4 separate regions of the Homo sapiens genome follow, and regions 1, 2 and 3 are each linked to region 4. The links are contacts of gene promoters, found by promoter capture Hi-C in blood cells and fetal thymus (Javierre and others, 2016). All regions are on one chromosome and are shown on one strand. Each heading gives the region's core, a stretch centred on a gene start or on the middle of the fragment in contact. The rest is flanking DNA. Distances are from core to core; before and after follow the strand shown. Region 1 overlaps ABCC11 (ATP binding cassette subfamily C member 11). Region 2 overlaps ABCC11 (ATP binding cassette subfamily C member 11). Region 3 overlaps LONP2 (lon peptidase 2, peroxisomal). Region 4 holds the start of N4BP1 (NEDD4 binding protein 1).

What was found. Contacts are between HindIII fragments. The CHiCAGO score rates a contact against its expected background, and 5 or more counts as called.
Region 1: a contact is called between a fragment that was not itself captured here and the fragment with the promoter of N4BP1 in region 4, in 1 of 17 cell types (M1 macrophages). The highest score is 5.2, in M1 macrophages.
Region 2: a contact is called between a fragment that was not itself captured here and the fragment with the promoter of N4BP1 in region 4, in 7 of 17 cell types (fetal thymus, M0 macrophages, M1 macrophages and 4 more). The highest score is 8.0, in fetal thymus.
Region 3: a contact is called between a fragment that was not itself captured here and the fragment with the promoter of N4BP1 in region 4, in 7 of 17 cell types (fetal thymus, naive CD8 T cells, erythroblasts and 4 more). The highest score is 8.3, in fetal thymus.

Annotation. Positions count from the first base shown.
Region 1 is chr16:48,165,313-48,173,043 of GRCh38, reverse strand. It overlaps ABCC11 (ATP binding cassette subfamily C member 11), which reads left to right. Exons shown (of 30, transcript NM_001370497.1): 27 at 2,077-2,155; 28 at 2,826-2,939; 29 at 5,384-5,548; 30 at 5,678-7,271. The coding sequence ends at 5,770. Among named protein-coding and RNA genes, the nearest start is that of ABCC12, 13 kb to the right of the region's middle. RefSeq lists a silencer at 6,696-6,865 and enhancers at 7,023-7,522, 7,523-7,731. The HindIII fragment of the contact is 1,669 bases long and covers 4,389-6,057 here.
Region 2 is chr16:48,225,602-48,232,912 of GRCh38, reverse strand. ABCC11 (ATP binding cassette subfamily C member 11) reads left to right here. Exons shown (of 30, transcript NM_001370497.1): 2 at 974-1,090; 3 at 2,340-2,476; 4 at 4,949-5,107. The coding sequence starts at 992. Among named protein-coding and RNA genes, the nearest start is that of LONP2, 15 kb to the left of the region's middle. The HindIII fragment of the contact is 4,111 bases long and covers 924-5,034 here.
Region 3 is chr16:48,253,693-48,261,265 of GRCh38, reverse strand. It overlaps LONP2 (lon peptidase 2, peroxisomal), which reads right to left. Exons shown (of 15, transcript NM_031490.5): 3 at 4,525-4,656; 4 at 2,526-2,648. Among named protein-coding and RNA genes, the nearest start is that of ABCC11, 9.9 kb to the right of the region's middle. The HindIII fragment of the contact is 2,505 bases long and covers 2,078-4,582 here.
Region 4 is chr16:48,605,528-48,612,302 of GRCh38, reverse strand. It overlaps N4BP1 (NEDD4 binding protein 1), which reads left to right and starts at 2,123. Exons shown (of 7, transcript NM_153029.4): 1 at 2,123-2,528. The coding sequence starts at 2,331. It overlaps LOC124903687 (a long non-coding RNA gene), which reads right to left and starts at 1,993. Exons shown (of 2, transcript XR_007065063.1): 1 at 1,785-1,993; 2 at 1,090-1,648. RefSeq lists enhancers at 581-660, 1,853-1,932, 1,943-1,992, 2,943-2,992 and a silencer at 2,033-2,632. The HindIII fragment of the contact is 6,560 bases long and covers 1-3,983 here.

The sequences.
Region 1 (7,731 bases), core at 3,974-6,473, 440 kb after region 4:
CAAATAAGACCTGCCTCTTCTTTAGTACACATTAGCCCTACACACAAGATATGCGTGGCTGGCACAACTGGGGAAGGATAAAGCAAGGTTGACAGGTTTCACTCAGGGCTACATGGCTGCATAGCAGGGAAGTGTCTATAGTGCTGCCTGTTCCAGATGCAAGTGTAAAGCTTGCTGGGTGTAAAGTCCAGATAGATTCCCTCTCTCATGTCAGTTACCTGGATGTTAGGATTCTTTTCACTGCAAGAAACAGAAAGTCCAGCCCCCCAACAATGAGCTACCACTTCACACCTACTAGAATGGCTATAACAATAATAAAAGGTAAATAGCAAGTATTATTAACAAGGATGTGAAAAAATTGAAACTCTCATGCATTGCCAGTGGGGATGTAAAATTGTGCAGAGACCATGGAAAACAATTTGGCAATTCCTCAAAAAGGTAAACAAAAATTAGCTGGGCATGGTGGTCTGTGCTTGCAATTCCAGCTACTCAGGAGACTGAGGTGGGAGGCTTGCTTGAGCCCAAGAGGTCAACGCTGTAGTGAGCTGTGTTTGCACCACTGCACTCCAGCCTCGTAGACAGAGTGAGACCCTGTCTCAAAAAAAAAAAAAAAAAAGTTAAACATAGAATTACCATGTAATCCAGGAATTTCACTTCTAGTTATATATCCCAAAGTGTTGAAAGCAGAGACTTCAACCCATATGTGTACACTAGTGTTTAGAGCAGCCCTACTCACAGTAATCAAAAGGTGGAAACAAGTCATACGTCTATAAACAGATGAATGGAAAAACAAAATGTGGTATATACATACAATGGAATATTATGCAGCTCTAAAAAGAAGGGAAATGTTACATGCTACAATATGGATGGACACGAAGTGAAAGATGCCAGACAGAAGGACACATACTACATGAGTCCACTTATATGAGGTAGCTGGAATAGGCAAATCCATATCGATGGAAAGTAGAATAGAAGTTACCAAGGGCTGGTGGGGAGGGGGAAGAAGAGACTGTTTAATGGGTATAGAGTTTTTGTTGGGGATAATGAAAAAGTTTTGTTTTGTTTTGTTTTGTTTTGTTCTGAGACCGAGTCTCACTCTGTCACCCAGGCTAGAGTGCAGTGACACCATCTCAGCTCACTGCAACCTCCACCTCCTGGGTTTAAGTGATTCTTCTGTCTCAGCTTCCTGAGTAACTGGGACTACAGGCTTGCATCACTGTGCCTGGCTAATTTTTGTATTTTTAGTGGAGTGGGGTTTTACCATGTTGGCCAGGCTGGTCTCAAACTCCTGACCTCAAGTGTTCTGCCCACCTCAGCCTCCCAAAGTGCTGGGATTACAGGTGTGAACCACCATGCCCAGCAGGATGATGAAAAAGGTTTCGATATAAATAGTGGTAATGGTTACATGACATTATTAATGTATTTAATGCTGCTGAATTGTACACTTTTAAGTGGTTAAAATGATAAATATTATGTACTTTCTATCACACAATAAAACAAAACCCAAATGGCTTAAGGAAAAGTGGCCTCTAATGACTCATGCATGATAATGGGGAGGCCAAGGCTGAGTTCCAGGGCCCGGTTTTCCCCTAGCATTGCCTTGCTTCATTCTGAACTCCACATGAGGGCCCTGGGGGGCTCCATGTGTCCCACTCCTGTGGGAGGATGGTTGCAATCTCTCCGCACGTCTCCCATGGTAGCCTGAAAAGTCCTGAGATACACTCTGATTGGTTACTTTCCCACCCCAAGCTAAGCACCATGGCCAGGGATTGCTGTATGTCGATTGGCTTATCCTTGAGCCCTTTGCTCCATCAGGAGTGGATGGTGGAGCCTGCCCTGGAACACATGGGCTGGGGGACTGGGGAGGAGGTGGCCCCTAAACAAAACCTGGGCCTGCTGCCTGCAGAAGGAACAGGTGCTGGGAGGCACAAAAAATCTCCATTTGTGGTGGTTCCATGAATTTCCCTAAACCCCATAATCCAGTTCTAAACATTCTTGGTCATTCACTGGGCATATAAATGAGTGTTCAAAGCCTGGGTGATGTTGTTGAACACTTCTCTTTCTCTCATATGGTAGATTCAACCTAGATCCCTTTGACCGTCACACTGACCAGCAGATCTGGGATGCCTTGGAGAGGACATTCCTGACCAAGGCCGTAAGTAGCTCCAAGGCCCAAGTCTTGGTCTAAGTCTGCATCGCCCATGGGGGGCTGCCCCTTTGGGGCTCCTCTCATGTGGTGTTCCAGCTGCTGCTGCTTCGGGTCATGGATGCATCATCTCATGGAGATGAGATGACTTGGCATTCCTAAGTCAAGGCTGATGGCACTCAGACACCAACCGTGTGCCAGACACTGTTCTAGGCTCAGGGGCACAGCAAAGACAAGGCAGATGAGGTCTTTGTCCTCCTGGTACGTACATTCAATAGGAGATAAAGGCAACAAGTAAATGCAGGAGATACTTTCAGATACTGGTAAGGGCTGTATAGGTAGTCATGAGACCCATAGAAACGTCAGGGCAGGAGCAGCTCTTTTCAATTGGGTGGCCAGGCAAGGTCTCTTTAAACAGGTGGCAGCTGAGCTGAGACCAAGAACTGAGGGGCAGCCGATGAAAGATCTTTTGAGAGGACATTCTGGGCACAGGAGCTAGCGTATGCAAAGGCCCAGAGACGAGAGTGAGCAAGGCGCAGTTAAGGAGCAAGAAAACAGAGGCTGGAGCGTAGAGAGAGGAGGGCAGTGTTGCCAATACAGCGGAAGATTGACAAGGTCAGGTTGGGTCTCACCCCACAGTGGCTTCCAGGTTATGTTGTCTCTTCTTCCCATATCGCAGATCTCAAAGTTCCCCAAAAAGCTGCATACAGATGTGGTGGAAAACGGTGGAAACTTCTCTGTGGGGGAGAGGCAGCTGCTCTGCATTGCCAGGGCTGTGCTTCGCAACTCCAAGGTGAGGCCACCACTGCCGTGTGGCCAGGGGAAGCCACAGACTACGCATGATGAGGGAAGCCACACCGGCTCCCTCTCCCTTCACTACCGTGGGACACTGGGCTCTGTGGTGTACGTCTTAACAACAACAACAACAACAACAACAACAGCAACAGAATCCAAAGGGCTTATTCATTTCCTTTTTTTTATTATTATACTTTAAGTTCTAGGGTACATGTGCACAACGTGCAGGTTTGTTACATATGTATACATGTGCCATGTTGGTGTGCTGCACCCGTTAACTCGTCATTTACATTAGGTATATCTCCTAATGCTATCCCTCCCCCCTCCCCCCACCCCACGACAGGCCCCAGTGTGTGATGTTCCCCACCCTGTGTCCAAGTGTTCTCATTGTTCAATTCCCACCCATGAGTGAGAACATGCAGTGTTTGGTTTTTTGTCCTTGCAATAGTTTGCTGAGAGTGATGGTTTCCAGCTTCATCCATGTCCCTACAAAGGACATGAACTCATCCTTTTTTACGGCTGCATAGTATTCCATGGTGTATATGTGCCATATTTTCTTAATTATTTCCACACATCTACAACCATCTGATCTTTGACAAACCTGACAAAAACAAGAAATGGGGAAAGGATTCCCTATTTAATAAATGGTGCTGGGAAAACTGGCTAGCCATATGTGGAAAGCTGAAACTGGATCCCTTCCTTACACCTTCTACAAAAATTAATTCAAGATGGGCTTATTCATTTCACTGAGTGCCATTCCACATGCATTTGTGGTGTGGGTGAGGCATGGTAGATGAGATTCACAGCCTAGGCTGCCTGATAGCGGATTCCTTACACCTGAGCTGAAATGTCTCCAACTAGACCAAATGATGATCCTCTTTTCTCAGAAAAACACAACACATTAGACCCTCGTTGATTTTTAAATTGCCTACTGTATACTGTTTTAAAAACTTGGATGCAGTACATCCCTTTTATCTTTATTAGAACTGGGAATTGGATGACAGATGCTGATCCAGGGCAAAATTGCATATATATATATTTTTTAAATTTACTTTAAGTTCTGGGATACATGTGCAGAACGTGCAGGTTTGTTGCATAGGTACACATGTGCCATGGTGGTTTGCTGCACCCATCAACCCATCATCTAGGTTTTAAGACCCACATGCATTAAGCATTTGTCCTAATGCTCTCCCTTTCCTTGCCCCCCACCACCTGACAGGCCCTGGTGTGTGATGTTCCCCTCCCTGTGTCCATGTGTTCTCATTGTTCAACTCCCACTTGTGAATGAGAACATGCAGTGTTTGGTTTTCTGTTCCTGTGTTAGTTTGCTGAGAATGATGACTTCCAGCTTCATCCATGTCCCTGCAAAGGACATTAACTCATTCTTTTTTATGGCTGCAAAATTGCATATTTTTAAAAATTTGGCGGAACAGGGCTTCCAGAAGCTTTCTAGATATTTTGTCCATAATTTCAGGTGTTTGAGTATGTGAGATAGCCTGGGGCAAACCTTCTCCTACGTAGGCGAGGCAAGACACACATGTACACACATACTTATGCATGCATATGCACATACCTTCTCCATACTCACACATGTATGCATGCTCACACACATGTATCATGGTTAATTAATGATAAATGCAAAAACTGTTGGTGCAAACTGTCAGAGCTGTGGGAAAAGAGCTCAGTGGGGCCCAAAGCCTGGGAAAATTTCAGAGGAGGTAGGACTTTCCCCCTCTTCTTTGGAGAGATGAACAACAAATTTGCAAAGTACATGTAGTACTTTCTTCACACTTCCTTATTTCAATTACATAGCCATTTGGTGCTGCAATGGCTTCCTCTGTATTGCTTCCCAAATTTGAGTCATTACTTTATGATTTTTGTCATCTCTGGGTACCACCTACCCTGTGATTTACTAATGATACTCCCTTTTCAAAAACAGCCTCATCCCAAGCAGTGCCATTTGTGAAATCACACTTTCAGTGTGAGTTACAGTTTCCTCATGCATATCGTTAATGAAATAAATACAAAAATGTTAAACTAAAAAGAATGTTTATCCATATGCTGGAGAAATCATCTCATGTGCCTCCTGGGGTGTGTGCCTGCCCCTTCTTGGAGAACACCGCTCTACTTTAGTTTCGGTAAATGGGAAAGTAGTTAATAAAACAAGAAGTTGCCACTAGGCCATTTTCATTTCCAAGAACTTAATTCTCTGGCCACTAAAATGCAGTTAGCTCCTGGTTGAGACCTAACGTTCTCTTCATAAGGTAATGGATAATCAGCAATCAGAGCGGGCTTTGCACTCGGCATAATTCTCCCATTTCCCAGCTAAAGAAATGGAGACCTGGAGAGGAAGGGCCCTGGTGAATTAGTGGTAAACCAGGGCTAGACCCAGGTCTCTAGGGCCTGAAGTAGACACCTTCACCCCTGTTTTGTATTCATCAGATCATCCTTATCGATGAAGCCACAGCCTCCATTGACATGGAGACAGACACCCTGATCCAGCGCACAATCCGTGAAGCCTTCCAGGGCTGCACCGTGCTCGTCATTGCCCACCGTGTCACCACTGTGCTGAACTGTGACCACATCCTGGTTATGGGCAATGGGAAGGTGAAGGCTGCGTCCTTGGGCTGGTGGGAGGATGAGGGCTCAGGCTGCTACCCCAGATGCCTTTGAGTCCTCCAAGGACACAAGCTCAGCTGTGCCCTGATCCTCCCCTCGCCTTTCTCTACCCTCCAGGTGGTAGAATTTGATCGGCCGGAGGTACTGCGGAAGAAGCCTGGGTCATTGTTCGCAGCCCTCATGGCCACAGCCACTTCTTCACTGAGATAAGGAGATGTGGAGACTTCATGGAGGCTGGCAGCTGAGCTCAGAGGTTCACACAGGTGCAGCTTCGAGGCCCACAGTCTGCGACCTTCTTGTTTGGAGATGAGAACTTCTCCTGGAAGCAGGGGTAAATGTAGGGGGGGTGGGGATTGCTGGATGGAAACCCTGGAATAGGCTACTTGATGGCTCTCAAGACCTTAGAACCCCAGAACCATCTAAGACATGGGATTCAGTGATCATGTGGTTCTCCTTTTAACTTACATGCTGAATAATTTTATAATAAGGTAAAAGCTTATAGTTTTCTGATCTGTGTTAGAAGTGTTGCAAATGCTGTACTGACTTTGTAAAATATAAAACTAAGGAAAACTCACTTTCTTTGTTCTGCTTCCTTTCGTTTCTTTTCTTTTTGTTTTTTTAGACAGGGTCTTGCTCTGTTGCCCAGGCTGGAGCGCAGTGGCGCAATCTCAGCTCACTGTAGCCTCTGCCTCCCAGGTTCAAGCAATTCTCCTGCCTCAGCCTCCTGAATAGCTAGGATTACAAGCATGTGCCACCATGACTGGCTAATTTTTGTATTTTTAGTAGAGGCGGGGTTTCACCATGTTGGCCAGGCTGATCTCAAGTGATCCGCTTGCCTTGGCCTCCCAAAGTGCTGAGGTTATGGGCATGAACCACTGCACCCAGCCATCTTCATTCTGCTTTTTACGTTAGCTAGTACTTATTCAGTTGCAAGGAACAGAGACTCCCTCAAACTAACTTTGGAAAAAAAAAAGAGTTTGTTGGTCTTGTAACAGAAAGATACAGAAAAAGTTCAAGGTTGGGTGCCGGAATGAAAGGATGCCTGTTTTGAGGTCTCTGTTTCTCTTCTCCTAGCTCTGCTTTCCTTTGTTTGGCTTCACTTTCTAACTTCCTCTTGCCTCATGGTGGCAATATGGTTGCCTGCAGCTCCAGGTTCACGTCCTACACACTCTGCACCCCCCAGGTCTTCTTGCCTCAATGATTCCAGGGTGAAATCTCACTGGGCCAGCTTGGGTCATGTGCTTGTTCCTGATCAATCATGTGCTAGGCTGTTGGCATACTGTGATTTGCCAGGCCTGAGCCACATGCCCATATTTGGGCCTGGGGATGGGATTTGCTGCCCTAGATCATGTAGACTGAGAATAGAAGAGGTTGTTTCACCAAAGTAAAATTGTGCCTGAGGGAAGAATGGATATGGATGCTGGCCAGGCCCCAGATAGCAGCTGTCTACTATGATTGTTTACTGAAGAGCAGCATAACTTACAACGTATGACAACTGAAAATAAAATAATTTGTTTTCTCTCTTTCTTGTTCTCACTCCCCCACCCTCCACATGTGGTTACAGACAAATAGAAAAGGCAATCATTTTCAACTTACTTCTGGGGAGACCTTGTTGTTGGGGGAAATATGTTTCAAAGTACTTTCCTTTTTATTCCAGATTATGATGTCTGATTTTCAAAAAATGCCATAAAAAATCAATTTAGTAAACCAATATTTCTCACTCTCTTGCCTGCACTGGTGCTGGGGATGAAATGGTGTCCCTGCCCTCAGGGAATTTGGAATCTCGTGAGGGTAAGTAAACAGTAAAACTGTAAACAAGTAAACAGGCCGATCCAGAACAGGGCTACCTGAGGCTAGAAGCAGGAACAGGATGCAGAGGAAAAGGCAGCCCCCGGGGACTTCCTGGAGGCAGTGTGGGCACAGTTTACTGAGACCTGAGCACTGAACAAACATTTACTCCAAGGAAGGGGACTGGGGCAGGAAAGAATGTTCAAGGCAGAGAGAACAGCAAACAAATCCCTGCGGGAATGAGCTACTACAGGGGCTGATGCAATCCTTGGACGGAACAGGAGAAGTCCGGTGCCCTGGAGCGCGAACCTTCTGTTCCCCATTTGGGACTCTCTAGTGGCACCTGCTTCTCCTTCTAGGGGGTTTATCTTTCTTAAAAAACC
Region 2 (7,311 bases), core at 1,730-4,229, 380 kb after region 4:
ATTTGAATGGTAAAAGCTATATCTGAACACCAGGACCAACTACATAATTTGTGGGTAACAGTGCAAAATGAAAATGAAAATGAAAATGTGGGTCTTCTTGTTCAAATTTATTAAGAATTTCAGGATGGCAACAGAAAAGCATTCAACTGAGCCTGGGGCCCTTCTGAGTGTGGGGCCCTGGGGGGCACAGGCTGCACCCTCATGGCCCTGGCTCTGCTGCACACTTTCTCTTTCCATCTCTTCAGAATATTCCTAATTACTACCTTCTCTCCTGTCCCAGGCACATGAATATTCTGAGTCAAGCAGGGAGTGAGTCACATACTCAGAAAAACAAATATGAAAGTCATATTTTTTTTTTAAAAAAAGAACCCTGATTATTTAAGTCTCCTAACTTGTCCCCAGATTCCTTCTGGGGTCTGTGAAAACCAAGAGTGAAAGCAGGGAAAATGATGTTTCTTTCATTCACATATGTGTCCATTCATTCTTCATTTATTGAGCACCTGCTCTCCTCCCAGCACGTTCCAGGCCCAGGAAATTCAACAGCGAGGAAAGCAGACATGTCCCTGTGCTCATGAGGCTCTCTGTGTAGTGCATAAATGAAGTCTGAACAAATAATGATTCAAACAAATACACAGTTAAAGACTGGGATAAAGCAAGAAGACTGATTTTATGAGCAGGGGTTTGATACATCAAAGGAGATTGCCCAGGATCAAGGGTGCGGTGTTGGGGGTGGGTTGGGGAGGGTGGTTAGAGAAGGTTTCACTAAGTGATTTGGGCCTGAGGCCTGAGAAGATGTTTAAAAAGAGGGATCAAGCACAGGCTAAGGAGAGGAAAGAGCAGGCACCCAAACCTCTGCATGGCCCCAATATGCTCCCTGCAGGGTAGTGCCCCCTCTTCTGGCTGCTCAAGGCGAGATCTAAGCTTCTTCTAACTCCTGCTGTCTTTTCATATTCTCTGATTCTGGGAAACGAAGAATTGGCAGGAACTGAAAATGACTAGGAAGAGGACATACTGGGTGCCCAACTCTTCTGGTGGCCTCGTGAATCGTGGCATCGACATAGGCGATGACATGGTTTCAGGACTTATTTATGTAAGTAGATCTCTTAGCATCAGCACACCAGGAAACTGAGTTGGCAGAATATTCTCCACGGTCATAAATTACGTCAAACAATTTCTTCCCATACTTATTTACCCTTGAATTTTTTTTCTTTTCTCTTTTTGCTCTCTCTCTCTCTCTTTTTTTTTTTTTTTTGACTCAGGGTCTTGCTTTGTCACCCAGGCTAGAGTACAGTGGCACAATCATAGCTCACTGACACCTCCTGGGTTCAAATGATCCTCCCACCTCAGCCTCCTGAGTAGCTAGCTGGGACTATAGGCACATACCACTACGCCCAGCTAATTTTTAAATTTTTCACAGAAATGGGGGTCTCCCTATGTTGCCCAGGCTTGTCATGAACTCCTGGCCTCCATCCTCCTGTCTTGGCCTCCCAAAGCACTGGGATTACAAGCATGAGCCACCCCACCCAGCTACTCTTGATTTTTTTCAAATAGACCTCAGGCTTCCACAATGAGATCAATTATAATCCATCATCATGGCATACCTTCATGGTTTATGCATATCTCTATGCATAATATTATATAGAGATTAGATTGTATCTATCTCTCTATCACCTATTACCTATTTATCTATGCATTTACTCATATTAATAATAATAATAATAAGCATCTGCAAACCCATCACCAATACATCAGCTTGGACCTTGGCAATCACACGCAGCAATTGGTCTTCCCCCATGTCATTCCCCAACCCTTCCTACCTGATGTAACCACTATTCTGAATCTCTTTCTGTCAATCCTTGCTGTGCTTTTAAAAAGTATTATTTTATATAGAATATATTATTTATTCTATATGAAGTCCTAAAAATTACCTGTCCTTTTATTTTAGTTGTCAAAAGGGAAACATATAATATTTTAGGATTTGCTTTTTTACTTGTTGGTTTCTTTTTAGTAGATTTACCCTCAAAGAGTGACTTGGTCCCTCATTCTGCAGGTAACTAACTATGGCACCCTTTATTCCTGTCTAAATTGTTTACTGTCAGATAAAAATCCAAAGAGGTAGAGTGACTGGGCCAGACTCACTCAGCAAATGTGGGTCAGAGCGAGTGCTGGGATCCAGTTGCCCTGACTCTCGGTCCCCTGCTTATTCTCGGTATGGAAGCCTTTCTTTAGGAAGCAGGATATGGAAAAATCCATTTCTCCATGGGCAGCTGGTCCAACATTCCCTCAGGACAGAATTTACGAGATTTGAAACTGATGCTCTTTTGTTTTTCTTTTCCAAGAAAACCTATACTCTCCAAGATGGCCCCTGGAGTCAGCAAGAGAGAAATCCTGAGGCTCCAGGGAGGGCAGCTGTCCCACCGTGGGGGAAGTATGATGCTGCCTTGAGAACCATGATTCCCTTCCGTCCCAAGCCGAGGTGAGTCCTGATGGGGGTGGTGGGAGAGAGCTGTATCCACCAGGGCAATGATCCCCAACCCTCCCAACTAGACCTCTCACGAAGGTTGCATAACTACATCCCTACACAGCCAAATCCCTTCAGAGCAGCCTGAGGCACACCAGGGAGGCACATCGTCATAGCCATTCATTCATTATTTATTCATACAGAAAGGATCATTGAGCACCTACATGTGCCAGGCACTGTGCTACATCACAGGGGAAGAACAGTGAGCAAACAGACGTGATCTTTGCCATCATGGACCTCACATGGGAGAGAAAGACAATAAGCAAATAAACTTGTGCATGACATGATTACAAGCTGTTTGAGGAAGGTGCTGTGAAGAAGTATGCGAGTGTTGAGGGACCGGAGAACCATGACAACTTGGTAGGTTCTGAGTGGCTTAAGCTGAGTGACACCTAGAGGGAGAACAAGAATTTCCTAAGCAAGAGTAGGAGAAGAATGATCAAGGAACAGCCTGTGGGACAGCCTTGCCTGGAGGGGCAAGGAACACAGCATGATGTGTCCAGGAACTGAGAAAGAAGGAGGCCAGTGTCACTGGAGAGTCTTGTGTGATGTGGGTGTGGCATGAGGTGAGGCTGCAGAGGCAAGCGGATCAGACAGGTTCTCAAAGGCCACATTAAAGTTACCAGCCGGCCGGGCGCGGTGGCTCACGCCTGTAATCCCAGCACTTTGGGAGGCCGAGGCGGGTGGATCATGAGGTCAGGAGATCGAGACCATCCTGGCTAACAAGGTGAAACCCCGTCTCTACTAAAAATACAAAAAATTAGCCGGGTGCGGTGGCAGGCGCCTGTAGTCCCAGCTACTCAGGAGGCTGAGGCAGGAGAATGGTGTGAACCCGGGAAGCGGAGCTTGCAGTGAGCCGAGATTGCGCCACTGCAGTCCGCAGTCCGGGCTGGGTGACAGAGCGAGCCTCCGTCTCAAAAAAAAAAAAAAAAAAAAAAGTTACCAGCCTTGGTTATGGGAGTAACCAAGTTGATTTCCAACATGTTTTCTAAGATTTTTATCTATCAACAAACTGCATTTGTTTGCCCATTTTTAAAATCTGAGCTTCTGTCAATACTAGTTACATTGTTACCATATTGAATTATGTTATCTCCACCAAGAACAAAGAACCTTGGTACTTTCATTCACCTGGGTAACCTCATCTTAGATAAATATATTGTTTCTGTTGGGGCTTTAAGATATTAGCACTGGCTCATAGGTCTTGCCCTGTCTTTTGTGATCACAAATGGTACAATCTCTTGCCCTCCCCTCACCCGCTCCTTGCTCCAATATCCCTGGCAATGGCATGTGGCCAGCCTTGTTGAGAATGCTGTGAGGATATGAAAGGGTAGAGAAAAGACGTCATAGTCCCTCTCCCCTACCCCCCAAAAGAAATCTTATAAGTTCGGCATTTTCATCTTCCCATCTTTCTCCTCAAGTCTCTTTTCGAATTGCATTTTCTTCCCATTGAAACACATAAACTTAAAGGCAATTTTGAAAAAAAAAAAAGTGGAAAAATGACACATAATCCCAATACCCTAATTTAGTCATTTTTGGTATTTGTAAATCATTCTTAAAGGTAATACCTTATCATCTTTAATTATTTATGTATTCAATTTTATTGTTTGTAAAAGTTTCACAGAAGAATTAAAGCCTTGAGGACCTCTCTTCCTATTTCTTTGTCAACTCCAACTCCTTTTTCAATGTCAACCACTATCAGCAATGTGATATAAATGTACATACTGTTTTGTCTGCTTTCTCTCCTTTCTTCCTTTTTTATATAAGTGAAAAAAATACTGAGTTTTTTTTTTCTTTTGAGACGGAGTCGTGCGCTGTCTCCCAGGCTGGAGTGGTAGTGGCGTGATCTCGGCTCACTGCAACCTGTGCCTCCCGGGTTCAAGCGATTCTCACGCCTCAGCCTCCCGAGTAGCTGGGATTACAGGCGTGCACACCACCACACCAAGCTAATTTTTGTATTTTTAGTAGATACAGGGTTTCACAATGTTGGCCCGGCTGGTCTCGAACTCCTGACCTCAGGTGATCCACCCTCCTCGGCCTCCCAAAGTGCTGGGATTATAGGCATGAGCCACTGGGCCCAGCCAATACTGAGTTTTTAATCTGCAAGTGGCTTTTTTTTGGCTTTTGCTTGGAACTCTTCCTGTGTTTTACATATAAACAAACCTTATTGAAAAAAAAAAAACCCCAAACATCTACATTGCATTTGCATTTTATAGTATGGGTAGATCATAATTTCTCTCTTTTTGTTTAAATAATTCCTCAATTAATGGGCACTTTTGTTGTTTATGATTTTCAACTTACAAATAAGAGTCATGAAAACATGTTTGTGTGTAGATCTGGGTAACCTCGTTGTGTTTTAATATGGTTGTCATTCATCCTTGCAAAATCTTGATCCTGAATTCATTCTTATCCTTGTGGCCCCTCTACTAGGTTTCCTGCCCCCCAGCCCCTGGACAATGCTGGCCTGTTCTCCTACCTCACCGTGTCATGGCTCACCCCGCTCATGATCCAAAGCTTACGGAGTCGCTTAGATGAGAACACCATCCCTCCACTGTCAGTCCATGATGCCTCAGACAAAAATGTCCAAAGGTGAAGCTGCGCTGGGCAAACCAGTGGATAGGTTAAAAGACAATCTCTTGGTGGGATAATGACCAGAGATGCCTAAGGGTGGTAGGGAGGGGCCATGCCAGACGACTTGGCTCTTCCTGTAGGAAGAGGCCTCATACTAGGTGAGGGTTTTTAACGTGGGGTTCATGAATCTCCTAAAATGGTATGGATATTTTGTACATACGGGCTGGAGATCTTTCTCTGGAGCAAGAATTCACATCTCTTATCAGACTTACCACAAGGCTTGTGAACCCAAGAAAGTTATTTTTCATTTTTTTCTTTTATTTTTATCACTATTTTTTTTTTTTTTTTGAGATGGAGTCTTTCTCTGTCACCCAGGCTGGAGTGCAGCGTGGTGCAATCTCGGCTGACTGCAACCTCTGCCTCCTGGGTTCAAGTGAGTCTCCTGCCTCAGCCTCCCAAGTAGCTGGAATTACAGGCGCTTGCCACCACGTCCGGCTAATTTTTGTATTTTTAGTAGAGATGGGGTTTCACTATGTTGGCCAGGCTGGTCTTGAACTCCTGACCTCAGGTGATCCACCTGCCTTGGCCTCCCAAAGTTCTGGGATTACAGGTGTGAGCCACCACACCTGTCCCAAGAAAGTTAGAAATGACCACTTCTAGTCCCTTTTGATTTTCTCTTCTGGATCAGGCATTCAACAGTGGCACTGAGTATTACTTTGGGTAAGTGGCCCAGTCTCCCAGTGCTCAAGCCACCGCTAACTAGTTGTGTGATTAAATTTCTTGTACCACCCACCACACACGGTAATATGAGGACAAAAGGTGGGAGAATATGAATATGTGATTTTAAAGATCCTGTATTCATGTTCCTACCTCTAGCTGCTTCATGAGAGATACCAGGTGGAAAATGAGTTTCCAAATGTGTTCTGGAAATTATAGTCTCATAAGAGCCTCCCCATAAAGAGCATTCAGTAGTCAGAGGAGTTTGTGAAATGTTGTGTTATAGCCAGGTGTTGGAGATTTACAAAGCAACTTAACACATTGAAGGCACATGTTTTCACATGGAGTACAGAAACTGGGTAAACTTTGACCCATTCCTTCTCAGACCTATTTGGTAAGAAAAAAAGAAATGGTTCCAGGAAATACTTTTTGGATAATGCCAGATATTAGTCAGAATCTCACCTCTTACTATGATATCAGACAAGTTTCCCTTTCTGGGCCCTGTGTCTTTATGTATAAAATAATGGATTGGCCGGGTGCAGTGGCTCACGCCTGTAATCCCAGCACTTTGGGAGGCCAAGGTGGGCAGATCACGAGGTCAGGAGATCGAGACCATCCTGGCTAACAGAGTGAAACCCCATCTCTACTAAAAACACAAAAAAATTAGCCAGGCATGGAGGCGGGTGCCTCTGTAGTCCCAGCTGCTCAGGAGGCTGAGGCAGGAGAATGGCGTGAACCCAGGAGGCAGAGCTTATAGTAAGCCGAGATTGCGCCACTGCACTCCAGCCTGGGCAACAGAGTGAGACTCCATCTCAAAAAAAAAAAAAAAAAAAAAGTGGATCATAAATTTATTTCATGGTCCTTCATAGGATTGTTGCAAGAAACAAAAGAGGTGATAAATTCATTTTTTAAAGTACACAGAGAATCGCTTGAACCCGGAAGGTGGAGGTTGCAGTGAGCCAAGATTGCGCCACTGCACTCCAGCCTGGGTGACAGAGTGAGACTCCATTTCAAATAATAATAATAATAATAATGTACCTGGAAACACACTTGATGCTTAATAGGTAACCAGCTAAGTCAATTTGAGTTTGCTTGTTCTTCTCTAACCATTGTGAGTACAAGATCTCCTGATTTCTTTCCATTCTCTTCCAGTTCACTGATTCTCTTTTTAATTTCGTTACTTACAATGTCTGTCCACAAACACTTTTGCAATCACTCCGTTTTTGTTTTTTGTTTAAAGATGAGATCTCACTATATACGCAAACTACGAAATACAGAAGGAATGGAAGAATTAGAAAACTCATCATTTTTCCAGCACTAGTGGAGGTGGCGCTAGGCAATGGTCATCAGTGTTGGAGATCTTGATAATGAAGGAGCCAGGCTGACACACCTTAACCCACTGATCCCCACCAACATTCCTAAAAGTGGGACACCAGACATCATGTGGTTCCTGATGTGAGGCGACAGGAAGTACACTCATCACCTCTTACATTTTTTTTTGCCAA
Region 3 (7,573 bases), core at 2,081-4,580, 350 kb after region 4:
TTGTATACAGAGAGGCAGCAGAATTGCAGAAGTAGACCAACGTAAGGTAGACATGATTCTTTGGTATATGCTTACAATAATACTTGCATGAGAAAACAAATTTCAAGGAACTGGATACTAGAAATAATTAAACCATCTAGGAATTACCTTTCTTTGAGCTACTATTGCAGCCACTATTTTCTTGAAATACATTACTTCTTACCATTTGGTGACTGAAAAAAATTCCATTTTATCTCCTACATTACAAAATTTCTTCCTAGCATCTTCAACCTTTCCACCACTGGCTCTATTTTGTCTTCAAAGCTTTCCTGCTTTCAAAATATTTTTTTCTTACCTCTAGTTTCTTCTAGTTAACTATCGCACTATTTACTTCCTTTCTTGTGAAGTTCTGCTTCTCCAGCAAGTGGCTATAACCACCAGATCCCCTACCTCATCAATTACTTCAGTGAGCCTTCGGCATCTGTTCCCATCCTGCCAAAATTGTTCTTTCAAATCTAAAAAACATATTCTGTGCAAAGTCAAATGGCCTTTGTATTCTCTATGATCTCTCTATCATATGTTAAAACTACCTTATATGCTCCTTGAAATTCATGAATAAACAACCACTACTGGAGCAAAATTATATACTAGCATTTAATTTAAAAGCCCCCAGAACATTTTATTTTTTGAGACAAGGTCAAGCTTTGTAATCCAGGCTGAAGTGCAATGGCATGAACACTGCTTACTGCAGCCTCAACCTCCCTGGCTCAAGTAATCCTTCCACCTCAGCTTCCTAAATAGCTGGGACTACAGACACACACCAGCATGCTGGCTAATTTTTTAAATTTTTTTTGTAAAGATGAGGTCTCACTATGTTGCCCAGCCTGGTCTTGAACTCCTGGCCTCAAGCAATTCTCCTTCCTTGGCCTCCCAAAGTGCTGGGATTACAGGCATGAGCCACTGCATTCAGCCCAGAACTTATTTTTTAACCTGGAAAATTTATCTATTTAATACATTCAAATATAAAAATGTTTAAAACATAAAGCAGTAAATAAAAATTTAATTTTATAAAAACACAAGTACTAAATATATGCTTTTATTCTTACATAAGTCATCAGCAGATAAAATATTATAAATAAAAAACTGAACATATTATATATTTTTTAAAAGTGAGATTTTTATAAGCATATCAGTGATTTCATTGTTAAGACAAAAGCACTTTTTAATGCATTTTTCCTTCCTGACTGCTAAAACAGTGCTTTTCAACTCTTAGGGGAACAAAAAGGAGAGAGTTTTAGGTTAACTCCAAATATTATCCTAATTCCTACTTTTTAAATAACTGTCTCTTGCTTATTTTCTGGAGCACTTTTGAAAAACTTTCATTTTAAGTGATGGCAAACTTTACTGAGAGTAAGTTGCAGTTTTCTGCAACTCCCAGTGGATTTGTCTCTCTATACAAAATGAGTAATTGAGTCCCTGACCTGATCTCAAGCCAGAAATAATCCAGCTTTCTGCATGTTTTAAACAGCATGGTGTCCTGGAGTACTAATCGCCAGCATGATCATCACTGTTCCTATCTCTCTCCTCAGCCTACTTGACTGCCCCTTCTCTAGTCCCACCGGGGAGGAGTTCTTCCCTTCTGCTCCGCTTTCTCTACAATGTATTCTCTTTGATGACAAGACTTCTGCGCTGATGAACGTCAAATTGCTAACATAATTCTCAACGCCTCAACTTAAGTCAGAGCGCTGCATCTCAACACCTTCAGAGAAATGCCATTTTCACATCCTGTCCACATCAAATATATCTTCCTAATATAAACTCTGTCCAGACATAAAAATAGTAAAATCAGCAGATCAAGGTAGACTTCAAACAGATCCCATCATACATATAAATGTAATAGATGATAATGGGGATGGGAAGGATTATTTAATTAGTGGTGTTGAGTCAAACAAAAAGCTATTTGAGGGAAAAATACAACTGCTGTCTTCAAAATAATATATGGGTTAAAGAATTAAATACTTTTTAAAAAATCAACTAAAATTAAACTGAAAGGAAAGTGAATATTTATCAAGCCACTGAAGGTTAGAGGACTTAAGCTTAGAAAACAAAAAAAGATCAAGAGTTTGACTAAATAAAAATGGAAACTTATTATAAGTTGAAAACAGCCAAATTTTGACACAACATATAGTCCTTTTAAGAAAGAGTTTTGTATTAGTTTCTTAGTATTACATGCAGTAAAAAAATGTTATACTCAAAGACACCCATCATAGTTATTTGTTAGTGTTTACAATACACAAAACATTGGAAACAACACAAAAGGGGAAATGGCTCAGTAAATTATCCTTTTGGATGATAACCAAAACAAAGTGAGAAAAATGCTTACATGCTTTAAAAAAAAATCCAGGCAAAGAAAAGGATGAGAGGGAAACACCTAAATTTTATCAGTAGTGCGAGTGGTAGGAGACAATAAACTTTTCTTCTTTGTTCCTCTCTTTATTCTCCTTATTTTTTTTTCAAAACTGAAATGGGTTAAAATAAATATTTACCCTCTTATCATCATCTTGCTTGGGTTTTCTGGTTTTTTGAAGCAATTTCAGGCCTTCAATTTGTCTGACAAGCAGTGGTATAGTCATCTTGAACCGCTCCTCTAGGCTCACAGCATCTAAAATCTAAGGAAATGTGAGTCAATCAATAGGATCTCTCTCAGAAACACACAATCCAAAAACAGACAGTCAGAGCCATGGTTTAAATTGCCAAGTTAAAAAAAAATTATTAACAGTATTCAAAGCTACACTATGGCTAAGACAACCAAATGAACTATATTAATCAGCAAGGTTGTTTGAGATGAATATCAGAATCCTTAAAAAAGAAAGAAAAAACAGGATCTTGGTTTTTCACTTTAAAATGAAGCTGTGTGGTTTTTTTTTTTCTTTTTTTTTTTGAGACGGAATCTTGCTCTGTCCCCAGGTTGGAGTGCAGTGGCGAGATCTTGGCTCAGTGCAAGCTCCCCCTCCTGGGTTCACGTCATTCTCCTGCCTCAGCCTCCAGAGTAACTGGGACTACAGGCACCCGACACCATGCCCGGCTAATTTTTTGTATTTTTAGTAGAGACAGGGTTTCACTCTGTTAGCCAGGATGGTCTCGATCTCCTGACCTCGTGATCTTCCCACCTCGGCCTCCCAAAGTGTTGGGATTACAGGCGTGGGCCACTGCGCCCGGCCGAAGCTGTGTGTTTTTAAGATGAAAAAACCAGACACACAGTTGACGTCAACTCTTTCTGGGAATTACTCTCTTGAAGCCCAGAATGTGTTTTCATATTAGATCTAAACAAATTATAGGTTCAAAATATTAAATGTTTACATACACAAGAGAACAGAAGCACTCAACCAACTCTCACTAGTGATTTGTCGGAGCACAGGCCGCTCTCTGTTCCCGCAGTAAAACACACTGCTGCCGCCCACAGCCAGGGGGCTCTCTGGCAGTCCTGTAACTCTTCTACTCCCACTGGATTAATTGAATTCCTGTGTATAACCAACCTGTTTGTGTTAGTTGTATTTGCTATTATAACAGTTGGATTTAAGTATTAAATAAACTGATAACATATGAAAGAGCTGTTTCACTGAAAACAAACAAATATTCTAGGATGATTCATTAAAAATACTGCTTTAAAAATATCTTAAAAATAAGTGTGCAAGAAAACTTAAAGTATTACAGTTTGGGGATTAAGTCATGTAAATGTAGGATTCTATACTTGGATTACTTTTCAAGTGTCTTTAAAATTCATTTCACTTTAAATAAATATAAATTTAAAATTATAAGTAATGCATCATAGGTGTGATTTATATAAGAAACATGATGAAGATTCTAAGAAAGCAGGTCCACACATAAGGGAAGGGCCATGGCTCCACGTTTAAAAATAGTGAATCAAAGAATGTCTACATATTTAAGTTAAATTAAATATTTATTTATTTATTTATTTAGAGGCAGAGTCTCTGTTGCCCAGGCTGGAGTGCAGTGGTGCAATCTTGGCTCACTGCAGCCTCTGCCTCCCAGGTTCAAGCGATTCTCCTGCCTCAGCCTCTCGAGTAGCTGGGATTATAGGCGCGCACCACCACGCCCAGCTAATTTTGTATTTTTAGTAGAGATGGGGTTTTACCATGTTGGCCAGGCTGGTCTCGAACTCCTGATCTCAAGCGATCCACCCATCTCAGCCTCCCAAAGTGCTGGGACTACAGGCGTGAGCACCCAGTCAAATATTTACCTTTTTATGATTCTTTGCTTTAACTTTTTCTGTAAATTGACTACCATTACTGATTATGCAAATAAAAGAGCTGCTTGTGTCAACAAAAATATAAAATAAAAGAGCTGCTTGTGTCAACAAAAATATAAAACAATCACATTTGAAAGTCAGTTTAAATGTAAAAGCATTTCAATTACTTTGGGTCTCCAATATCTTTTTCTTGAAGGTCAAAACTTAACTACTCACTATCTAGATCTCAATAAAAAGTGACAAAGCAACCTGGCGTTCAAAAGGGAACACTGTACCTGGAGTTTCTCTTTGTTGCTTGTTCGGATAATTGATGTCAAGATGTCTGGTAAAGCTTCCCTTGGAAGACTATCTAAAAGACGTCTCAATTTAGCAACTGCAGGGACAGACATATCCAACATTTCAACCAACTAGAAGGGGGAAAAAAAGTCTTTTAAATGAAATCTGGCATTATTTGTGAATTTTTAAAAATCAGATTTCCATCTAGGTTTAATGTTTGGGCCTCAGTCTTTGTTTTTGAAAGATCACTGATTAATATAGTCCACGTATTTTACAGGCCTCAGAGGAAAAGAAAAGTACTTTCAAAACATCAATCAGAATGAAAAGCAATAATGGCTTAAAAGTAGTTAACACTAATGTTTACAAGGGTTTTGTAAACCTGTGCCATGATTATTTTTAACTTTCTATTGAAAAAAATTCAAATGTACAAAAAAGTTGCAAGAATCATACAATAACTCCTGTACATCCTTCTTCCAGATTCACCAATTGAATTCACCAACTGAAAAGTGGCATTTTGCCATGTTTGCTTTCTCTCTCTCCACACTCACACATAATTAATGAACATTTGAGGATAAGCTGCAGAATCGAGATCCTTATTCTTTAAATCTCTAATCCTGTGACAGATTAAGGACCCTTGTTCTTAAGAACAAGAATATTCTCTTACATAATCACAATATAAACCCTATTAGATGCATATTATTAGAAATATGTGTATTATTAGAAATTTAGCATAGTTGATGCTATTATCACGGCCAATCAGAGGATGAAATATTAATATTTAGTATAACATTTTGTATTAGTCTGTTCTCACACTGCTAATAAAGACATACCAGAGACTGGGTAATTTATAAAAGACAGAGGTTTAATGGACTCACAGTTCCACATGGCTGGGGAGGCCTCACAATCATGGAGGAAGGCAAAGGAGAAGCAAAGGCCTGTCTTACATGGTAGCAGGCAAGACAGCGTGTGCAGGGGAACTATCATTTATATAACCATCTGATCTTGTGAGACTTATTCACCACCAAGAGAACAGTATGGGGGAACCGCCCCCATAATTCAATTATCTACACCTGGCACCGCCCCCTGACACATGGGAATTATTACAACTCAAGGTGATATTTGGGTGGGGACACAGCCAAACCATATCAATTTGGACTAACTAGAATCTGAGCACTGTGAATGACTTTTAGAAAAACAACTGTCAGCGTATATCTGGGAGTTAAGATAGATTATGCCCAAGGCACACTTTCAGTAACTGTGATAGTCATTAGGGCTACTGACAAACTCCCCTTTTCTTCTGGGCACTGCTCTTTCTAACTTCCTTCGAATATACTAATAGGTGTGTCTATGAGTCTTAAATTGATCCATGAAACGTAGTGGAAGTGACAGCTCCTTCTGGGCAGAAGCATTACAAGCCAATGAGAGATGCGCCCCATTTCCTTTTCCTGCCTTAGAGATAAGGGAAGCATGTCTTTAGATGAATCTCCAATCCACCTGGGTCCGAGTGACTTTAATAGGCAGACACAACCCCCACTAGTCTCAGGCATGAAGCATGAGCCAGAAAGACACTCACATTATGCGACTGAGATTTCAGAGAAGTTAACATAGCAAAACTTAGTTCACACTAATTCATAATGATGTACTAAACCTTCATTTAGTCAGTTCAAATCAGATTTCATGTGCTAGTAATATTCAAACCTCTCCAACAACATCGTAATTTTGGAACTTATCCATTACCTGCCTAGAATGAAGGGAATTAAAGTATAATTACGATGAAGCTGTTCAGGTGGAAGAAGTAGATAATAAAATTTGAATACCCTTGCTACTAGGAATTCACCCCACGAAAATAAAACAGTTAAAACTCATTTTCCAAACATTTACTGAGTACAAACTATTTGCCAGACCCAAAACACTGCTCAGTACAGGATGGCTAAAGGAGAAAAGTGAATTCAAGTTTGGTAGAGAAAAAATACCTATAAGATACATTTCAATACAATGTGATAAGCATTATGTTAAATGACATGTATGACAGACTGTGAAGGCACACAGAGATGAGCGCTAACAGCCTACAGCTGTTGGGAAAGCATAGATTCAATTTTAAAATTCAGAGATGGAGGCCGGGCGTGGTGGCGGTTGGATCATGAGGTCAGGAGTTCGAGACCAGCCTGGCCAACATGGTGAAACCTCATCTCTACTAAAGACACAAAAAGTTAGCCGGGCGTGGTGGCGCATGCCTGTAATGCCAGCTACTTGGGAGGCTGAAGCAGGAGAATCGCTTGAACCCGGGAGGCGGAGGCTGCAGTGAGCCGAAATTGCACCACTGCACTCCAGCCTGGGCAACAGGGCAAGACTCCATTTCAAAAAAAAAAAAAAAAATCAGAGATGGAAGAGCACTCCCAGCAGAGAACTGAAGGCAGAATCATAGAGACATAAAATAACTCAATGTGAAGCTGTTTTACATTCAGTAGAGCTAGAACTAGGGTGTCAGTGAGGTGATAACTAGAGTTGACGCAAGACAGATAGGCCCAAGACAAGTTGCAAACGGTCTTAATGTTATACTAAGAAATTTGGTGTCCATCCTATAGCCATTAAAGTCTTTTACTCAAGGGAATGGGATGCCCCAGACTTCTTTTAGAAAGGCTCAGTGAAGAGAAAAGGTTCAAGACAGAAGAACTAGGAGACAGGATGCTATTGAAGAAGTTCATTGAAGAGATGCAGAAGTAGAAGTAGATGCAGAAGGGGATGAAAGAGAATAATTGGAAATAACTTTAATGTCTAAAAAGAGAAATTATAAAATTAGTATACATTAACTCAATGAAATTAACAAAAGTACTTAATATGAACATCAGACATGGATACAAAAACAAAACATATAATTGAATATGAACTGAGCCCAGAAGACGAACAAAAATTAAATTTGATGCATGATGACAGTAAGATGTGTGGTGATCTATTTATTTCTAAAAATTCCTTTAATGTCACTGCAAAATCTTTACAAGTTTAAAAAGTTCCTCTAGATTCAAAGTACAAAGAAGTAAAAGCAAAGCA
Region 4 (6,775 bases), core at 874-3,373:
TTCAATTATACACCAACCCAGTGACTTATTAGCACAGCTTCTTGGCCCAGCATTTTTTAAGGGTGTGTGTATGCACTGCTTCTGTTGGTTTTGGGTGGGATTTTTTTGGAGGGAAGTGGGGAGAGGAAGGCACTGTGGTGTGTTTTTCAAGGCAGCCTCCCTCTTCACCTCTTACAATTAAGCAATTAAGAATCGCAAGCAGGGAAGTCACTGGGAGCAAACAGGAACCAGCCCTGGGGAAAGCCCTGTCTAATCACTGAACAATAGCAATTCCGTTTAAGGTGAGTGCAATAAGGCAGGAAATAACATGCTGTGTTGACAACATGCCTTACTGATAGACTGCGGTTCTGCAAGCAATGCATCAGCAATGCCACACTCGCCACCTGACCTGCCTCAGCCAATCCCACGTCATCTACCTGATGGAGCAAGGCTGCTGGTTGTGTGGACATCAAGGGAAAAGCCCAGGGGAGCAGGAATCTGTTGATCTGTGAGCCTAGTGGTTCTCTTCCCTGTGCTGAATCACTTCTTGGTGGGGCACTGGGAGACCACACCTGAGTTTCTGAGACATATGGAAACCCCCAGAAGCCTGGATCTCTCATAGGTTTTACCTTGGGTAAATCCTCCTACAGAGACCATTCCCCCTTGGTATTTCCAACTACAGCATCTTTAGCTCCTCCTCTTTTTCCTCTAGCAGGGATGTACACAGATGGCACAGACTCCTGGGCCCACAAGTTCACTGTGGTTGCATAATCCACACAAAGATTTTCCCTGAAAATTAGGCCTTAAATATATTGCTTAAGTTAGCAATAATAATGTTCAGTGAGCACTTACAGTGTTGGGTGCTGTATTAATATTCACAATAGGAAGTACTATTATTATCTACATTTTATAGATGAAAAATTAAAACAGAGAGAGGTAATATTCCCAGAGCCCCTATCTACTATAGCCACAATATTTAGCTGAAGGAAAGGAATCCAACACTTTATCTTCCACAATCTGTTTTCATGGACTCAGAGAATATAAAGGCCTGGAAAAGGCCTTAGAGATAACTGAGTGTACTCTTTTATTTTACAGATCAGAAAACAGACCTGGAGAGGGGTTAGGGTTTATTTGCTCCAGTCCCAGGGAAGATCATGAGTGAGCCCCCAAACTCCCACTTTTCGGGCTTCTCCCATAACATATCCCCTTTCTTCCCTCACAGAAGAAATCACTCTCCTGAATTTATCTTTTTTTTTTTTTTTGAGACGGAGTTTCGCTCTTCTTGCCCAGGCTGGAGTGCAATGGCGCAATCTCGGCTCACCGCACGCAACCTCTGCCTCCAGGGTTCAAGCGATTCTCCTGCCTCAGCCTCCCTAGTAGCTGGGATTACAGGCATGTGCCACCACGCCGCGCTAATTTTTTTTTTTTTTTTTTTTTTTTTTTTTTTTTTTTTTTTTTTTTTTAGCAGAGACGGGGGTTTCTCCATTTTGGTCAGGCTGGTCTCGAACTCCGGACCTCGAGTGATCCACCCGCCTCTGCCCCCACAGACTGCTGGGATTACAGGCGTGAGCCACCGCGCCCGGCCTTCTTGAATTTATCTTAATCATTTTTTTGATTTTCAATTCTCCGTAAGTATGCCCATTTTCTTCTCTTCTTGCTACCATTTTTACTGAAAGAAATAAAAAGGGAAAGAGAAAAAAGTGAGAAGGGCAGCTAAGAAGGTAAAAGGGTAGGGAGGAAGGGAAGAAACAGAGAAAGAAAAGTCCCGTCTGCCTGTGGATTAACGTGAAACTGAATAACTCAACTGCTAGAATCCTGGTTTGAGCGTCAAGATGTCTGAGGTCAAGTCCAATCCCTGTGACACTCTCAGTCTCGCCTCCTGGCAATTAAGTTTCCCCAACTATAAACCCATATATCTACATCCACCAGATCCCGCGAAAGCGGTTTCCCCTCATCAAAGAAGTCCGCCCAGGCCTCCAAAACCATCCCTTTATTCTCAACCAACATGGCGACTGAGGGTGACGTCAACTTCCGTCGCCTTCACCCTACTCCCTTCCCCTAGGGGGCGGCGAGCCTCAATGACGGCTGCGGCCGGGGCGCATGCGCGGCGGCGGGGCCCGGCCCGCGGCGGCGGCAAAGGGGCGGAGGGGTTCGCTGCCAGCAATTGCCAAGCTGCTGCGGTCGTGGCGGGATGGTATAGCCGGGCCTGAGGGCGGGCGGCGGGGCGCGGGCGGGGGCGAGGCGGCCGGGAAGGGCCGACGCCGCCTGACTGGCTTGGGAGCAGCGGCAGCAAGCTGAGGGGGCGTCGCCGCCGCCGGCCCCCGGCGCCGCCGCGGGAGGCCGCGCCCGCCATGGCGGCCCGGGCGGTGCTGGACGAGTTCACTGCGCCAGCTGAGAAGGCGGAGCTGCTGGAGCAGAGCCGCGGCCGTATCGAGGGCCTGTTTGGCGTGAGCCTAGCCGTGCTCGGCGCGCTAGGGGCTGAGGAGCCGCTGCCCGCGCGCATCTGGCTGCAGCTCTGCGGGGCGCAGGAGGCGGTGCACAGCGCCAAGGTGAGTCCGGCCGCCGCCCCCGCGCGCCCGCGGCCTCGATCGGTCCGGGTCTCCGGGCTCCCGCTCCTCCCCGCCCCCGCCGTCCGCCGCGATGCGCCTGGGTTGGGAACGCAGTCTCGGGAGCCAGCGAACGTGCCTTTTCGGCTCGCGAGCCATGTGACCTTGGATAGCGGCTTGATCCCCGGAGCCTCAGTTTCCCCATTTGTAAAGTGGCGCTGACGAAAGTACCTACCTCAGAGGGCTGTCGCGAGGATGAAAGTGGGGGATGTGTATGAAGCGCAGGCACAGCGTGTGGCACGGATCGGGTGCGCTGCGCATGTCGCCTGTTGTTGTCAGTTCCCCGGCCCCCAGGATGGTACGCAAGGCCTGTTGCTGGGCCCGCAGCCTCGTCCACCACCTAAGCCTTTATCCCCCAGTCCCGGGCCTCCACTACTGCAGTTCTGAGCCTTTTTGGGATCTCAGTTCCTCTTGAGAATCGGAAAAAAACTATTAATAGTAATAAAACGCTCGGAGAATGTCAGAAAGAAAGGATTTATGTTTACCTATTTTTTTCTATTTGAGACAGGGTCTCACTCTGTCACCCACAGTGGAGTGCAGTGTGGCGCGGTCTCAGTTCACTGCAGCCTCGACTTCCCGGGCTCAAGTGATCCTCCCACCTCAGCCTCCCGAGTAGCTAGTACTATAGGAGCGCGCCACCACGCCCGGCTCATTTTTTTTTTTTTTTTTGGTAGGGGATTTCACTATGTTGCCCGGGCAGGTCTCGAACTCTTGGACTCAAGTCATCCTCCCATCTCGGTCACCCAAAGTGCTGGGACTACACGCGGGAGCCACCCCGGCCGGATATTTAATATGTTAACAAAAAATAGCGTTATTCTTTGTATTGATATTACCTACAACTAACATTTACATAACGCTTAAGAACATCACAGGTTGCTTCAGAAGGAATGTGCAGCCCTTATGGCTTCTAATAAGGTAGATTTTATCCTCCCCACCACCACCCCGCCTTTTTTTTTTTTTTTAATTAACAGCTGGGGAAACTGAAACTCAAAGTGGTGACTCACCTTCTGCCTAAATCAGCATTTCAGACCTCTTCAGCACCTCTATCTACTTCCCCCCCTTTCCAAACCAAAAAGCAACACAGTATGTTGCTCCTCCTAGGTAACCAAGTTTCTCTAGGTTTTTCCATCTCCTAAGTAGGGCAGCAGGATTCAGACCTAGGGAGTTTGTTTCCAGAGCCTTCGTTCTTGATACTTGCCTCTCATATGATGAGCCCTGTCTGCGGGGTGGGCAGGAAGGGCCCTCTTTTTGCATCCTGCTTTGTCAAGTAATGTCAGTGTCCTTGAATCTGAGTAGTCGTATCTCCTGATGTTCTTAGATTTAACAAAAAATCGTGAGTGTTTGCATTTCACATCCTTAAAGGAGACGGGGCACTCAGCTGTGTAGTTCTTCAAAGCTTAACTTAAAACATTGTAGGCCGGGCGCGGTGGCTCACGCCTGTAATCCTAGCACTTTGGGAGGCCGAGGTGGAAGGATCACGAGATCAGGAGATTGAGACTGTCCTGTGTCACACGGTGAAAACCGTGTTCTTGAGAATCGGAAAAAAACCATTAATAGTAATAAAACGCTCGGAGAATGTCAGAAAGAAAGGATGTATGTTTATTTACCTATTTTTTTCTGTTTGAGACAGGGTCTCACTCTGTCACCCACACTGGAGTGCAGTGGCATCTCTACTAAAAATACAAAAAATTAGCCCGGCGTGGTGGTACGCGCCTGTAGGCCCAGCTACTCGGGAGGCTGAGGCAGGATAATCGCTTGAACCCGGAAGGCAGGTTGCAGTGAGCTGAGATCGCGCCACTGCACTCCAGCCTGGGCGACAGCACGAGACTCCGTCTCAACAAAACAAAACAAAACAAATCAGAAAGCCAGCATTGTAGATATAGAACCAAGTTTGCTTTCCTGGGCTTAACTTTTTTAGTCAGTTGGATTGCAGACAGCTGGTCTAAGGCGCATTCCCCTTCGTCCATTCTCCCCAGCTATCCAATCTTCTGCACTTCTCAGGGCTTAAAAGCTTGACATGATTAAGTCCTGCTTTTTCTTCTGAAAATCTCTTACGTGCATTCATTCCTTTCCTTTCTATTGCCTTTGCTGCGGTTAAGACTTTCATTCCTGTGTGTCCCCTCCCTTGCTCCATTGCCTTTACTCATTCATTGCTCCCTCCCTCCCTGGTTCAACTTGTGTTAGAGTAATCCTCCTGCAAAAAGTCATTCTCCTGCCCTGGAACCTACTAGAGCCTCCTGTCACCTGTCTCATTCAGCCTAAACTCCTCCTCTGACTTACAAAACGATTAATCCAACCCCACTTTATTTTTCCAATGTTCTGGTTTAGCACCTTTCAGCTTAAATCTCCACTGTAGTAGTCTCTGCCTTTGCTGTGCGTTCTGCCTCCTCTGGGTTCTGCTTTTGCTCAAGACTCATCGCAAGCATGGAGAATGACTCCTTTGCTATGCAGAAGAGCCCTGCTGGTCCTGCCAGACCTGCCCAATGCCTGTTTTCTTGGCTGTCCTTGCCACACAGTTTAGCCAAGCTGTTTGGGAAAGGTGTGTCTTACAGTTTCTTGCTAGTATGTGCTCCTGCTTGTTGATCTTTGTGATATGTATTACTCATAAGTCAACCCTCCCACTTGTAAGAAATTCTTTTTTTTCTCCCCTTGAGACTCATAGGTAAGAGTTGAATGCCACAATCAGGGCTTTTTTGTTCTGAATTTGTTTTGGAGTTTGTTTTACTTTCTTGAAGGAGGAGAAAACCATTATTTTGATTTTAAAAACTAAGAACAGGAAAGCAAATTTGATCCAACATCTATAATATTTTAAGTTAGGCTGTGGAAGAGCAGCAGATTTAGAGGAAGGAAGATTTAGAGCAAAGAAGAGTTTTTCAACTATAGTGTCTCTGCTCAAAATAAGATAAGATGAACTGTCTTGTGTCCCACCAAGTGGTTTGCTTGTGTTTTGCCTTTAAAATGTGAATTCACTGCCTTTTGCAAATGCTAGAGTAGAGAAGAATGTGGAGCTTAGTTAGGTGGGCCTCCAATGACTGCAGAGGGGCGAAATGGAAACTACTAGTAGACAGTGATAGTGCGCATGCAGGTTGAAAAACAGGCACTGACTCTGTACCAGTGACCACTTTTGTTAAAGGGAAGATTTGTCGTAGAAAGCAGTACTTCAGCTGGCTTTTGAAGAGCCAAATATTCCCAGGTACCTGACCTTCCAGACAGAGGTGGTTGTGGAGCAAAGGCCCAGAAAACATGGAGTGTCATGGTAAAAGGTGTCCAGGTGCTCCTGGGAAAGATGAAGGCTGAGGTACCAAAATGCCAGGCTAAGGTCATTGGACCTTATTTAATAGTCAGTGAGGATTTTGAGAAGCATGGAATCTTCCTGAAACAGAAGACCAACAGTGAAATGAACATTGTTGCAAGTTAGCCTTGGGCATGAGGGGGTAGGGGGTGGTAAGGTTTTTACAGGGACAGGGCAGCTGTGTGGTGGATGTAGGGATTTAGGGGTCGGTTTTAAGCCAGGTGGCAGGAGGGATGGTTAAGTTGTTTGACCTATTGACTGGTGGGGCCACCAGCTCATCAACATTTAAGGAAGACTTCTCTGGTGCCAGGGAGTGTATTGACGGTTGCCCCTTGACCTCAAGAATCACGTTGCCTCTTAGGGGAGACAGACATGGGGAAGATACAGTAAAGTGTGATACATACAACAACTGCAATGTGTGCAAGGTGTTTCTGTAACACAGGAATGGAAGGGTTGCTCTGCCAGCCGGTTTCCTAGGTAGCAGGGAGGTCCTGGCAGAGGGAAGAAGCTGTGTGCAATCACAGGGGCATGGAAGAGGGCAGTTGCATCACAGATTCCTCCAGTGGATCACAAAGTGCTTGGGGCCTGCTGAAGAACATGGATTTTACCTGCAAGTAGTCAGTGGAGAGTCGTGGAAGAGTTAGGGGGACATGAGAAATTTACATTTCCACAAATGCCTCAGTGTTTACACCTCTGGGCTGGGGCTGCTCAGTGTGGTCTGTTGCTGGTTTTCAATAGTAAGAGTACAGAAATTGAAAATAAGGGTTGAGTAACTTTTATGCAATTTGGCATTAATACAGGGGCTAGAGAGGCAATGTCTAAGAGTGAGAAGTCCTTATAAGAGGGCATTGTCCATAGGGGGCCCAGAGAGAGGGGAAAGAAGTCAGTGCTGGAAGAC